2 separate regions of the Homo sapiens genome follow, and region 1 is linked to region 2. Evidence: promoter capture Hi-C in 16 types of primary human blood cells and fetal thymus (Javierre and others, 2016). All regions are on one chromosome and are shown on one strand. The core of a region is centred on a gene start or on the middle of the fragment in contact, and the rest is flanking DNA. Distances in the headings are between cores, read along the strand shown. Region 1 holds the start of TTF1 (transcription termination factor 1). Region 2 holds the start of GTF3C5 (general transcription factor IIIC subunit 5).

Region 1 (6,016 bases), core at 1,957-4,456, 620 kb before region 2:
AATCACTCTTTCCATTACCTCACCTTTCATCCACTTATTAACCCACATCCTGGTAGCTCCCACCCCACTACTCCACTGAGACCGTTCCAGCAAGAGTGCCTTTGTTCTTAAAGCCACAAATTTCAACAGACACTTTTCAGGCCCATCTTTTAGGACCTCTTAATAAATCACAAACAGAGCAAAGCCGATTATTTCTTTTTTTTCTTTTTTTTTTGAGACGGAGTCTTGCTCTGTCGCCCAGGCTGGAGTGCAGTGGCGTGATCTCAGCTCACTGCAAGCTCTGCCTCCCGGGTTCACGCCATTCTCCTGCCTCAGCCTCCCGAGTAGCTGGGACTACAGGTGCCCGCCACGACGCCAGGCTAATTTTTTTGTATTTTTTAGTAGAGACGGAGTTTCACCGTGTTAGCCAGGATGGTCTCGATCTCCTGACCTTGTGATCCAACCGCCTCGGCCTCCCAAAGTGCTGGGATTACAGGCGTGAGCCACCCACTGGCTGATTTCTTTTCTTTTCTTTTTTTCTTTTTCTTTTTTTGGAGACAGAATCTCGTTCTGTCACCCAGGCTGGAGTGCAGTGGCACGATCTCGGCTCACTGCAACCTCCGCCTCCCGGGTTCAAGCGATTCTCCTGCCTCAGCCTCCGGAGTAGTAGCTGGGATTACAGGCGCAAGCCACCAAGCCTGGCTAATCTTTGTATTTTTAGTAGAGACGGGGTTTCGCCATGTTGGCCAGGCTGGTCTTGAACTCCTGACCTCAGGTGACCCACCTGCCTCGGCCTCTCAAAGCGCTGGGATTACAGGCGTAAGCCACAGCGCCCGGCCTTGATTTCTTTAAATAACATTTCCCCTTCCATCAGTTCCTTTCCTTCTTTTTTGTAAATACTTCCTAGGCTGCTCTCTGGTCTCTGGAGCCCAGTACAACCTTCTAAATATATAGTCTCTCCCTGCTAAAAACTTTTTAGGGTTCCCCTGTTATTCTTAAGATAAAGTCAAAATCCTCACAGACCTGCAAGAGTCTTCATTTCTTCATAATCTAGCCTAGAGATGGACAGAGGTAAGTCCATGCCCACCTCTCTACCTCTCACTTCTCTCTAGGTTTCAGAAACCCTGCTGTTTTCAGTTCCTAGAATACACTACCTTCCTTTTCGTCTCAGGAACTTTGCAAAAACAGCCCATTCCATCAGGAAAGCTCTTCCTCCGCATTACCTTTCTGCCCTTTAACTGGTCCAAGTATGAAAGCCACTTTCTCAAGAGGACCTCTCTAACTCCTTAGCCGGTCTCATCTTTCTGGTTAACAGTGTTTCCCAACAACCAGCTGCTCCCCATTGCACTTTTGGCAGTTATAATATGATCGGCTTCTTGAGGGCTGGAATCCTGGCCATCTTGCTCCCAAATGGCTCCCCAGTCAGTGCTCGATACATATTGAGAACGGATATGCATTTATCCCCCCTTACTCAGAACATACACTTCCCGCTCTGCAGGTACGTGCCCAAACCTGGTCCCGGATTCTCTCACCGCCTTTGGGGTGCGAGAGAGACCCCGCTCTGCTCCCGGGTGGGCGCTCCAGGGCTGAGACTGGAGGAACTAACCAGATGTGAATTCTGCATCTTCTCACTCCCAAAGACCCAAGCCGCGGCCGGGCGCGGTGGCTCACGCTTGTCATCCCAGCACTTTGAGAGGCCGAGGCGGGTGGATCACCTGAAGTCAGGAGTTCGAGACCAGCCTGGCCAACATGGTGAAACCCTGTCTCTACTAAAAATACAAAAATTAGCTAGGCTTGGTGGCGGGCGCCTATAATCCCAGCTACTCGGGAGGCTGAGGCAGGAGAATCGCTTGAACCCAGGAAGCGGAGGTTGCAGTGAGCCGAGATCGCGCCACCGCACTCCAGCCTGGGCGACAAGAGCAAAACTCCATCTTTAAAAAAAAAAAAAAAAAACACCCAAGCCTCAGTTTCCCCGAGATAAGGCCTGGGGCAAAGACCGCGGCCTGGAGACCTCAGGCCAAAAGGCGGGTCTCCCAGAAGACGGGGAAACCCACCACCCCACGCTGAGTTTTTACGCGCGCATTTTGAAAAACAGAAACAACAAAGGCGCTTTCAACTTACCCTCCGAAAGCGCCGCCACCTTTCTCCCAACCCGGAAGTGCTGCTGTTGAGGAAGCGGAAGTAGTAGTGCGTCGCCTTCCGGCCCCCTCGGCGTCACGCTGCCATGGTAACACGGCTGCCGCTAGGCCTTGGAGGCGCGCACATTTGCCTACCCATTTTCCTTCTGGGTCCTTTAGACGTCAGGTGGGGTAGAGAGTGCTCCTGAAACGAAGAAAGTAGGACAGAATCCCCCTCCATTGACGTACTAATGCATGCGTGCATTCCATTTATTCCAGTTTTTGGTGAACTCCAGGAACAACTTGGGAAGACAGATGACAAATCAACTAAGATAATTTCAGATTATCTTGTAAGGAAAATAAAACAGGGTGACGTGATGGAGAGTGACTAGGGGACGGTGGGTGCTACTTTAGATGTAAGAGAGGGCTCACTGAGGAGGTGACATTTGAACTGAGTTCTAAATGGAAAGGGCAGGCAAAAAATCTAGGCAGAAGAGTGTTCCAGGCTGGAAGTGAGTGCAAAAGTCCTGAACTTGGTTGCTGGAGGACCTGGGACAAGGCCAGAGCAGCTGGAGCACAGAGTGAATCCACACAGTGAACCCACAGGGTGACAGACAGGTCGCACACGCCCAGCCTAAGTGAATGCATGTGAATGCAGGGGAGGGGGTGGGAGAGGAAGTCAGAGGTCTGCAGGGGCTATCTGGTGCAGAGGCTGATGGATGTTAAGCTTGGATGAAGTCTCAGAAGTTTAGAGTTAGCAGGAGCTTTGGAGATCTATCCCAGTCTTCCCATTTCAACAGAGTCCTGAAGAGACTTAGCCAAAAGGGCAGCTTTAACCTGGCCATCAATTCGAGGCCATTATATTTACCAACCAAACGTTTAACCTTTTTGGATAGTGAACATATACGATATAGGCAACAAGTTTTCTCACTTAATCCTTGTAATGAGGTATTATTAGCCCCACCTTGTGGATGAGAAACCTGGGTTTACAGTAACTTGTCCAAGGTGACTTAAATGGGCCAGCCAGAAATCAGACCTATGCTCTTTCTACTACTCCACTATCTTGCCCCTCACTGTTCCACCTGACTTCTATGTGATCTGCCAAGTGGCTTTGATTAAAAAATGCACAAACTATGCTTCCGTGAAAGTCTGGAAGGGAAGCAGGTTGGAGAAACGATGAGCCTATGTATGTACTCATGTTGCCATGCAAGGGCTGCTCTGGGATGTGGACGTGCAGTTGGAGCTCCGTCTGGAGAAGTCTGTAAATGTGGTGTTGTCCACTGTTGATATGGAAGGCCTTGAAGTCCAGGTCCGTCATTGGTGTCACGTGTTCTGTGGTGACCCCACTTACCCAGAGCCTTGTGGTGCTAGTGATGCATGAATGAACCCACAAAAGGCTGGCACTAGAGGAGAGATTAGATATCATCCAGTATCGATTCAGGAAAACTCCAATAGTGGTTTCCAATCCTCCTCCAACTGCACCAATCACCTGGGAAGCTTTTTTTTTTTTTTTTCAAATGCAGAGTCTCAACTTTGCAATGGATTTTATATTAAACACTATTGTATCACATTAAAATCTTCGGACATGATAATGACATTGTAGTTACACATGGGAATGTCCTTGCTACATGATGACGTACTTAGGGTTAAATATGGTGTTGACAGATATTTTTCAGGTGATTCTGTAATGTGTGTATGTGCATGCTCACAGAGAGAGAGCAAGAAAATGTGACCAGTGCTGGGGACGGGTGAATCTGTTAGTCCAAACTGCACCATTTTGTAAGCCCCCTGCCATTTTGCAGACCTTGCTTAAAGTGAAACATTCCACGGGGGTTCAGGCAGTGAGAAACAGCCTGCCTCTTATCATATTCTGCTGGGAGAAAGTGACAGGAACATCACGTTCCACCAGAACAAGGGCCAAACTGCCTCATCATGGGAATACCTTATCAACATCTTCCCGGGCAGCAGGCCATACCCACCGGGCCCCTCCCCGCCCAGGCCTATAATTTCTCCAGCCTGTAAGCAGCGGTAGGCACTGGCATTAAGCTGGTCTCCCACCTCTGTAGGTCTCATGCTGGACATAAAGCCTGAATTTGCTGTAGAGCCGCCACTCTTTCTTTAACCCTCCCCTTCCCTTCAAAATCTAACCGAATCTAGGTGAAGCCTATATGTATTTTCATTGTATTCTTCTTTCGACTTTCAACTTTTCTGTAGGTTTGAACTTTTTCACCAAGTTGTGGGTGGGTGGGTAAGGGGATTTTTAAAAATGCAGCATCTGGCCTGGTGAGGTGGCTCATGTCATTATCAGAGCAAGACTCCGTCTCTTAAAAAAAAAAAAAAAAGGAGAGCCTCAGATGCCATTTCCAGATATTCTGATTTAGTGAGTCTGGGGTGAGTCCTGTGAATCTTCGTTTTTCTTTTTTTGGCACATGGTCTCATTCTGTCATCCAGACTGGAATGTAGTTGCCGAAACACGGCTCATTGTAGTCTCAACCTCCTCAAGTGATCCTCCTGCCTCAGCCTCCCCCATAGCTGGGACCACAGGTGTGTGCCAGCACACCTGGGTAATTTTTTTAATTTTTGGTAGAGATGAGACCTCACCATGTTGCCCATGCTGGTCTCAAACTCCTGGGCTCAGGCCATCCTCCCTCCTAGGCTTCCCAAAGCAATGGGATTACATGGGTGAGCAGCCAAGCCCAGCCCAAATCTGTATTTTTCAATTTCCCTTCATTCTGTTGCTTAAATTTGGGAACCATTGATGTAATCCAACTCTAGCGTTTCCTTGTCACCCATCTCACAGGAAAAAAAGAAAAAAAGCCCTTAGGATCCAAGAGGGTGACTTGCCCGAGTCCTCCCAGTGGGTCAGCATCAGCATCAGGCTTGGAATGCATTTAGTGCTCTGTCTCAGGTGTGTGTGTGGCGCAAAGAGCAGAGGTGGGGAGGGGTTGTGAGTGGAATGGGGGTGAGCAGAGGATGGAGTCTTCGACTTGGAAGACAAATGTAAATGACCCTCTATGAGCCACGCCGCTTTGAACGCAACCCACTGGAGATTCTCGGTTCTCCTGTATCGATTCAGGAAAACTCCAAACAAGTCCACACTGGTAGCCACCAAGAGTTTCTTGAAAGAAAAGTACAAGCCGAGCCGGGCTCTGTTGGCGTCCCGTCGCCAAGGAGACGGGCCGTTGCATTCGTCCTCCAGGGGTGGTCTTGGTTTTCTTTCCTCTCCCAGTCTGCAACGCGGGGCCCAGGAGACGCCCTGAGGATCCCGCGGGGCTCCTGCATTGCTCCGGGGCTCTTTGCGATGAGGGGCCGGCGCGAGCGGGGCGCGCCTGGCTCCGGAGGGGTCCTGGCATCTGAGTTTCCCCCTCAGGATCCCGGTGGTGCGGCCCGGGCCGCCCGGCAGGCCCTTCGGAGCTCCAGGCTGTGCCCGACGTGGGGAAGCGCGCCCAAACCAGCCCGCGGGCCGGCTCCCCGGCGACCTCAAGGATGCCAGAGGCCAGGAGCTCCGGCCCGGACCTCACGCGATGGAGGAAGCAGCAGCAGCCTGTGCGCCGCACGGTCAGCCAGGTCTGCCCGCCCCCGCGGCGGCCCCTGACCGTGGCGGACATCCGTTCCGGCATGGAGAACGAGCGGCTGGGGGTCGTGCGGGACTCCATGTTTCAGAACCCTCTCATCGTCAAGGTGAGCACCCCACGCCCACCGCGCTTTCGCTGTCGCCGGCTCCGGGCACCTGCGCCGCCGGGGGTCCCCACCCGCAGCGCCCTGGCCCCGCGGCCCGGGGTCCGAGCGCAGCGTGGGAAGCTCCAGCTCTGGTCCAGACAGGCCTGGACCCCCATGCAGGTCGCGTCGCCTCTCTCAGCCTCGGTTTCCCCATCCTCACAGTGGGATGATAATGGCACCACTAAAGGGACTGATTGGGA
Region 2 (6,180 bases), core at 553-3,052:
AAAATCACTTCAGAAACGGGGTACCCATACCCAAGGGGTCACTTGCTCTTACTAATTTCTAGCTGTAATGCAAGTGGCATGATCATAGCTCACTGCAGCCTCCAACTCCAGGGCTCAAAGGATCCTCCTGCCTCAGCCTTTTGAGTAGTTGGGACTACTGTGGCATGCACCACCATGGCCGGCTAATTTTGTATTTTTTGGTAGAAATGGGGTCTTCCCCTGTTGCCCAGGCTGGCCTCCAACTGCTGGGCTCAACTGATCCTCCCGCCTCAGCCTCCCAAAGTGCTGGGATTACAGGCGTGAGCCACTGTGCTGGGCCATGATTCTCATCTCCCAATATTCTCAAACCCAGTCCCTTCATCTCTTGACTGGATTATGCAGTCTCGGAGCTGGTTTATCTGAACTCACTTTCTCCCCCTTTGATCTGTTCTCCACACAACAGCCAGAGAGGTCTTTCAAATGCATGAATGGGATCACTGCTCCGCATAAAACCCTTCAAGGGGCCAGGCGCGGTGGCTCACGCCTGTAATCCCAGGACTTGGGGAGGCCGAAGCAGGCGGATCATTTGAGGTCAAGAGTTCAAGACCAGCCTGGCCAACATGGTGAAACCTCGTCTCTACTAAAAATACAAAAATTAACCGGGCATGGTGGCAGGCGCCTGTAATCCCAGCTATTCGGGAGGCTGAGGCACGAGAATAGCTTGAACCCGAGGCGGAGGTTGCAGTGAGCCGAGAAAGCGCCACTGCATTCTAGCCTGGGCGACACAGCGAGATTCCTTCTCAAAAAAAGAAACCTTCAGGGGCTCTCCACGGCACTGGGAAGCAGCCAGCCCGACGGGTGGACCCTTTTCGTGGGTGCGGGTCTCTGACCTCGGTCGGCCTCGGACCTCATCTCCTCCCTGTTTGAGGGGCCACACTCCTCGCTCCGGGGCTTTGCAGCAGCCCTGGGCGCCTACCGGACAGACGCCGTTCTCCCCGCCTGGGTCTTGAGTAGGGCCCAGCACACAGTAGGCGCTTAATGTCTGCCTGCCTAACAGACGAACGCCGGATGCCCGCGTTCGGCCCCGAGCCGGCGCTTCGGGGCTTTCTGTGGAGGCGGGGCGATGGTTACAGCACAGTTCCCCCGCGCTCGCCTTTTCCACATCCACCTCCGCGAGGCCCCCCGCAAGCGCCGTTGGAAACCTAGTCCCGAGGGGGCTGCAAGAGCTTGGGAGAAGAAGCGCCAACACCGACAGAATACCAGGCCGACCCAATGCGGAAATCAATTCTCAGCCGGGACCTTTTCCCCACCAAGCAGGCGGGCCGGAAGTCTGCCTCTGGCCCGCCCCCGAGGTGTCATTGGGTGGAATACCCAGAAGAGGGCTGGGACGTGGTTAACTCTAGTTCTTTATTGGTTAAAACGTACGAAGCTGGAGGAGAAGGTGGGACCTAGCTTCCTCCGGACTTCTCATTGGCTCAAAAAAAAACTCGCTCGGCCCTCGGATTCTCATTGGCTGAAGTCGAGGGAGGTTTGTGTCTTATTATCCTCCGGGTCCCTCGCTGGCTAGTAGGAGAGACTGGTGCTTGCCCCGCCCGGTGGACTAACTCGCTTAATTTTAAATAAAAAGTCGAGGACACGGCGGTCGTTTTCCCGAAGACATGGGCCCTCCCATGGGCCATTTGCTCCCTGGAGGCCCTCGCGTCTTGCTGAGCCCGGGGAGTTAGGATGACGCGAGCGGTGAGGGAGCCCGGAACGATTCCTTCGCGGAACAATTGAGGCGAGGCCTTTGGGAGTACTTTGTGGGACGGACCCTGGCGGGCCCTGCCAGACGCACAGGGATGGCGGCGGAGGCGGCCGATTTGGGGCTGGGGGCCGCCGTCCCCGTGGAGCTGAGGCGGGAGCGACGCATGGTGTGCGTGGAGTACCCGGGAGTGGTGCGTGATGTGGCTAAGATGCTGCCGACTCTGGGCGGCGAGGAAGGCGTCTCCCGGGTAAGGGGCTGGGAATCTCGGTGTTGGAATAAGAGCTCGGAGTCGCAAAGAAAACGAGCACTCAAAGGATTTCTCAGCAAGGGAAATTTAGCAAATTTACTTACGCAGAAGGGTGCTGCTCGCTCTTCTGGCCGCTGCAAGAGAGCCAACAGAACAAAGAAGGGAAGGATTTTTGTTTTTGTTTTTGTTTTTTTGTTGGTTTTTCAGGCGGAGTTTCGCTCTTGTTTCCCAGGCTGGTGTGCGGTGGTGCGATTTTGGCTCACTGCAACCTCCGCCTCCAGGGTTCAAGCGATTCTCCTGCCTCAGCCTCCAGAGTAGCTGGGATTACAGGCGCATGCCACCACGCCCGGCTAAATTTGTATTTTTTAGTAGAGAGGGGGTTTCACCATGTTGGTCAGGCTTGTTGGAAATAAATTTTGGGTGCCGCAAAGAAGAATCAGCACTCTGGCAAACAGTTTTCTCAGCAAGGCAAATTTCCTTCTATAGAAGGGTGCATCTTGCGGATGGAGCAATGGCGAGAGCACACCGACAAGGAAGGGGAAGGGGTTCCTATCTCTTACACAGCTAGTCTCTACTGCTGTGTCTTTCCCATATTGGCTAGGGTTGGACCGCACAGTCTAAGCTAATTCCGATTGGTTATTTCAAAGAGGGCAGGGGCACAGGCCTGAGTGGCGGGGTGAGTAGTTTTGGTGGGAAGGATGGTTACAGAGCAGGTGACTCAGGATGACTAAGGACAGAGCAGGTGATAGAAGCTAGGAAGGGGTTGTTTACTGAAACTAGGGGCAAGGAGGCGTAAAGAACGAGGGGTTAAACTTTAAAATGGAGAACAAAGAACAGGGAAGCTGAACATACTGACATATTGGTTCTTTGAAATGGAACTCATAACTCATTGTATTTATTAATTTTCCCCCTCTTGAATTTAAAGGAAGGTAAAAGGCTAAAATCTTTGAAGTGGAATTTACTGTGTCCTATAGGCTGGTCTTGAACTCCTGAGCTCAGGTGATCCACCCGTCTTGGCCTCCCAAAGTGCTGGGATTATAGGCGTGAGCCACCGTGCCCAGCCTGGAATGGGTTTTTATCCCTAAGGCAGTCAGTCCCTGTTTTTGTGTCCTGTCCCTGCTGGTTGGAGTTGGACCACACAATCTAAGCTAATCTCAATTGGCTATTTTAAATAGAACAGGGGTGTGGGTTACAGTGACGGGACGAGCGATTTCGGTGGGAAGACTAGTTTCGGCGGGAAGGGCAGTTAAACAGAGCGGGTAACTAAGGGCAAGGAGGCACAAAGAACAAGGAAGTTAGACTTTGAAGATGGAGAACAAAGAACAAGGGAGTTGAACAAGCTGAACCTTTGAAGAAGAATTCACTGTATAGAACAGTTTCCCCCTCTTGATTTTCATACTTCTTTCTCTTCAAACCTTTTTAGCATGTCTCGACTTTGCTGTTCTTGGTTTTCTAAAAGTAGAAGTTTGTCTGAATAAGGCGGGGGGAAATTGGAGGTTAGTGAGAGCTGTCTCCGTAAGTCTTTGTATTAACCCTCAGGCACAGGGTATGATACAACATCCTACGAGAATAAACACGTTTATTACAATGGCAAGGGACATAAGGATCGAGGACATAAGTCCTTTCCACCTGCCGAACAATCTTCCCGTTAGATCAGTGAAGAGATCGTTTATCCCAGAATTTTAAGCTAGCTCATTGGATAAAGCAGTAAGACCTTGCAGTGCCTTTGTTATGGTTCCGTCAGGAACAGTATTATTTGGGATAAAAGTACAACATTGGGTTCCAAGCATGACACAAACGCCACCCCTCTCTGCTAGTATCATTTCTAATGCTATTCTATTTTCCCAAGCCATTTGACTGGTGGGTCCTAGTTGTTCAGCTGTTCCTTTGATAGCATTCCTAGTATAATTAACAAATTGTTGCTGGTTGTAATAGATGTAACTTATCCAATCTACATTTTTATTTATAGTTAACCACCAGAAAAACATAGACTCAAATCCCGCAGCTATTTGATTACAAGCCTTAAATTCATCAGGTACCCCTCGGGGAACTCCAGTGGCATCTGTATAAACACGAGGGTCAAAGGAACCACGGGGGGCATCTCTTACTCTACGGTGTCTTGTTTTTACTTCTTCTGGTTGATGAAATGCCAGAGTGAAAGGGATGGCCAATTGGATCAGAGCACAGGTACCGCTCCAGTTACTTGGCAGAGTATCCAGTTACGGTCCACCACAATGCCACCATACATCTGCTCAGGATAAATGACTAGGGGCAGATTCATGGGTAAGCTCTTGGAAGGGCTTAAGCTCACTGCATCCTGTTAGGTCCCCAAGGAATGCCAAATTTTCCCTGTCACAAGAGACACAAAGTAAAATTGGCACTGGGAGACAGAAGCTGGATAGCCCTCAGGGGCTGACCCGCAGGGTGTTGAACCTCAGGGAACAGCAGAGAGAGAGCTCGGCACGATTTATCACCCCAGGCTGTGGGGTCCTGGAAAAGAGCTACCGTACAGCCCATGCCCACTCGTCTGGAGGACCATCCAAGTGGAAAGGGGACAGTCTGGGCTTCTGGTCTACTGTGTGCACAAGTGTAACAATCACTTTTGTTTAAAGTGCGGACAGAATATTTAATCCATTCCATCCAGGCGTTTGCATCTCAGTACCCTGTTTCAATTGCTAGAGTTTGCTTTAGGTCTCTTACTTCTACAGCTGCTACTTTGGCTGGGTCGTTGTGGAGACCGGAGGGGAACACTGGGCCTGATATGTTTGGGGAGAGCGTTGGGTCCCATACGTTCCCTGGACTCTGGGTCTGGGTTTCTTCATTGTTTTTAACCGCCGATGGTCCAGTCAACCTTAGAGAGGGTTCCTATGGGATCCCGTCCTGTAACATCTGCTCCTAACCCGTACCGTCCGAATACAGAGGGTTCTTGGGCCATTGTTTGGGGATTATCTATAATTAGCAATAAGGGGTTACACCGCAGTGGCTTACAATTTGGTGGAGTGGAGCGATGGATAAGTTAGAGTTTTTGTTTGAGTTTCCGCAACTTATTTAAAGGAGGGGGGTTGGCTGTCCGCCTCCCATATTGACTGGTCCACCAAACATTTGCCCAGTCACCACAGGGGCCCTTTAAGGCTCCATACTTATACTTGTTTGACTGTCTGCGATATGGACATGGATACTTAACTACATCGGATAGCTGCCTTTGAGCTTGTTCGTATCTGCACGGGGTAAGAACAAGTGTCGAACTGAAGGGTCAAGGGATGGTTAGCCTGAGTCACATTGATGACAAGATGACCTTATGTTGGAAAGAAAAGGAAAAATAGACAAGTGATTATTAAGCCCTTTTTAGGGTTAGTTTGGTAGGGGTGGGTCCCGGGGTGACAGCCCATTTTTCCCTGTCTGTGGACATTACTCCTTTCACCTGGCGTGTAGTGTGCCCATCCCTTTTCAGCCGTTCGAATCGCTGTTTCAGTAGTTAAGAGTACCAGATAAGGCCCTTCCCAAGCTGGTTCAAGTTTTCCCTCCTTCCAGCTTTTGATGAGAACGTGATCCCCAGGCTGATGCTGGTGTGCTGGAAACTCTAGAGCTGGCGTCTGTGCTCAGAGGCCTTCAGTCCTGAGGGAAGAAAAAGTGGAGGAGAGACCAAGTTTATAGTTTTTAAGAAACTGATCTTTGTTTCAAACGTAGCAATGTCAGCAATGGAGTGTAGATAAGGCAACCCATATAGCATTTCATAAGGGGATAAGCCAACATCTTTCCAAGGGGCAGTTCGGATTTTTCACAAGGCAATGGGAAGGCATTTAGTCCATGGCAACCGAGTCTCTAAGACTAATTTGGTTAAGTGACTCTTCAGAGTTTGGTTCATTCTCTCCACTCTTCCTGATGAAGGTGGGTGCCAGGGAGTGTGGTATTCCCCTGCTATGTCTAGTACTTGGGCTAGTTTCTTGACGGCATGTGCAGTGAAATGAGTCCCATTATCTGAATCAATATTTTGTATTAATCTGTTAAACCTGGGTATAATATTCTCAATCAATGCTTTAATTACATTATTAGCAGTTGCACTTGAAAAGGGAATAGGTTCCCTCCAGTGCGTAAGGTGATCTACTATCACTAATAAGTACTTTAGGCAACCGACTGGGGGCATTTCGGTGTAATCAATTTGGACACTTTGGGACGGTCTTAACCCTGGACTCCTTTCCCCCAGGGAGTG

The links. The method cuts DNA at HindIII sites, captures the fragments that hold promoters and counts their contacts. A CHiCAGO score of 5 or more calls a contact.
Region 1: a fragment that was not itself captured here is called in contact with the fragment with the promoter of GTF3C5 in region 2 in 1 of 17 cell types (fetal thymus); the score reaches 5.5 in fetal thymus.

The regions. Positions count from the first base shown.
Region 1 is chr9:132,404,690-132,410,705 of GRCh38, forward strand. TTF1 (transcription termination factor 1) reads right to left here and starts at 2,151. Exons shown (of 11, transcript NM_007344.4): 1 at 2,101-2,151. It overlaps CFAP77 (cilia and flagella associated protein 77), which reads left to right and starts at 5,522. Exons shown (of 6, transcript NM_001282957.2): 1 at 5,522-5,777. The coding sequence starts at 5,583. It overlaps LOC105376304 (a long non-coding RNA gene), which reads left to right and starts at 5,952. Exons shown (of 3, transcript XR_930405.2): 1 at 5,952-6,016. The HindIII fragment of the contact is 770 bases long and covers 2,822-3,591 here.
Region 2 is chr9:133,029,195-133,035,374 of GRCh38, forward strand. GTF3C5 (general transcription factor IIIC subunit 5) reads left to right here and starts at 1,803. Exons shown (of 11, transcript NM_012087.4): 1 at 1,803-1,970. The coding sequence starts at 1,818. It overlaps LOC105376306 (a long non-coding RNA gene), which reads right to left and starts at 1,228. Exons shown (of 2, transcript NR_135119.1): 1 at 956-1,228. RefSeq lists enhancers at 984-1,233, 1,468-2,119, 1,564-1,823. The HindIII fragment of the contact is 8,183 bases long and covers 1-6,180 here.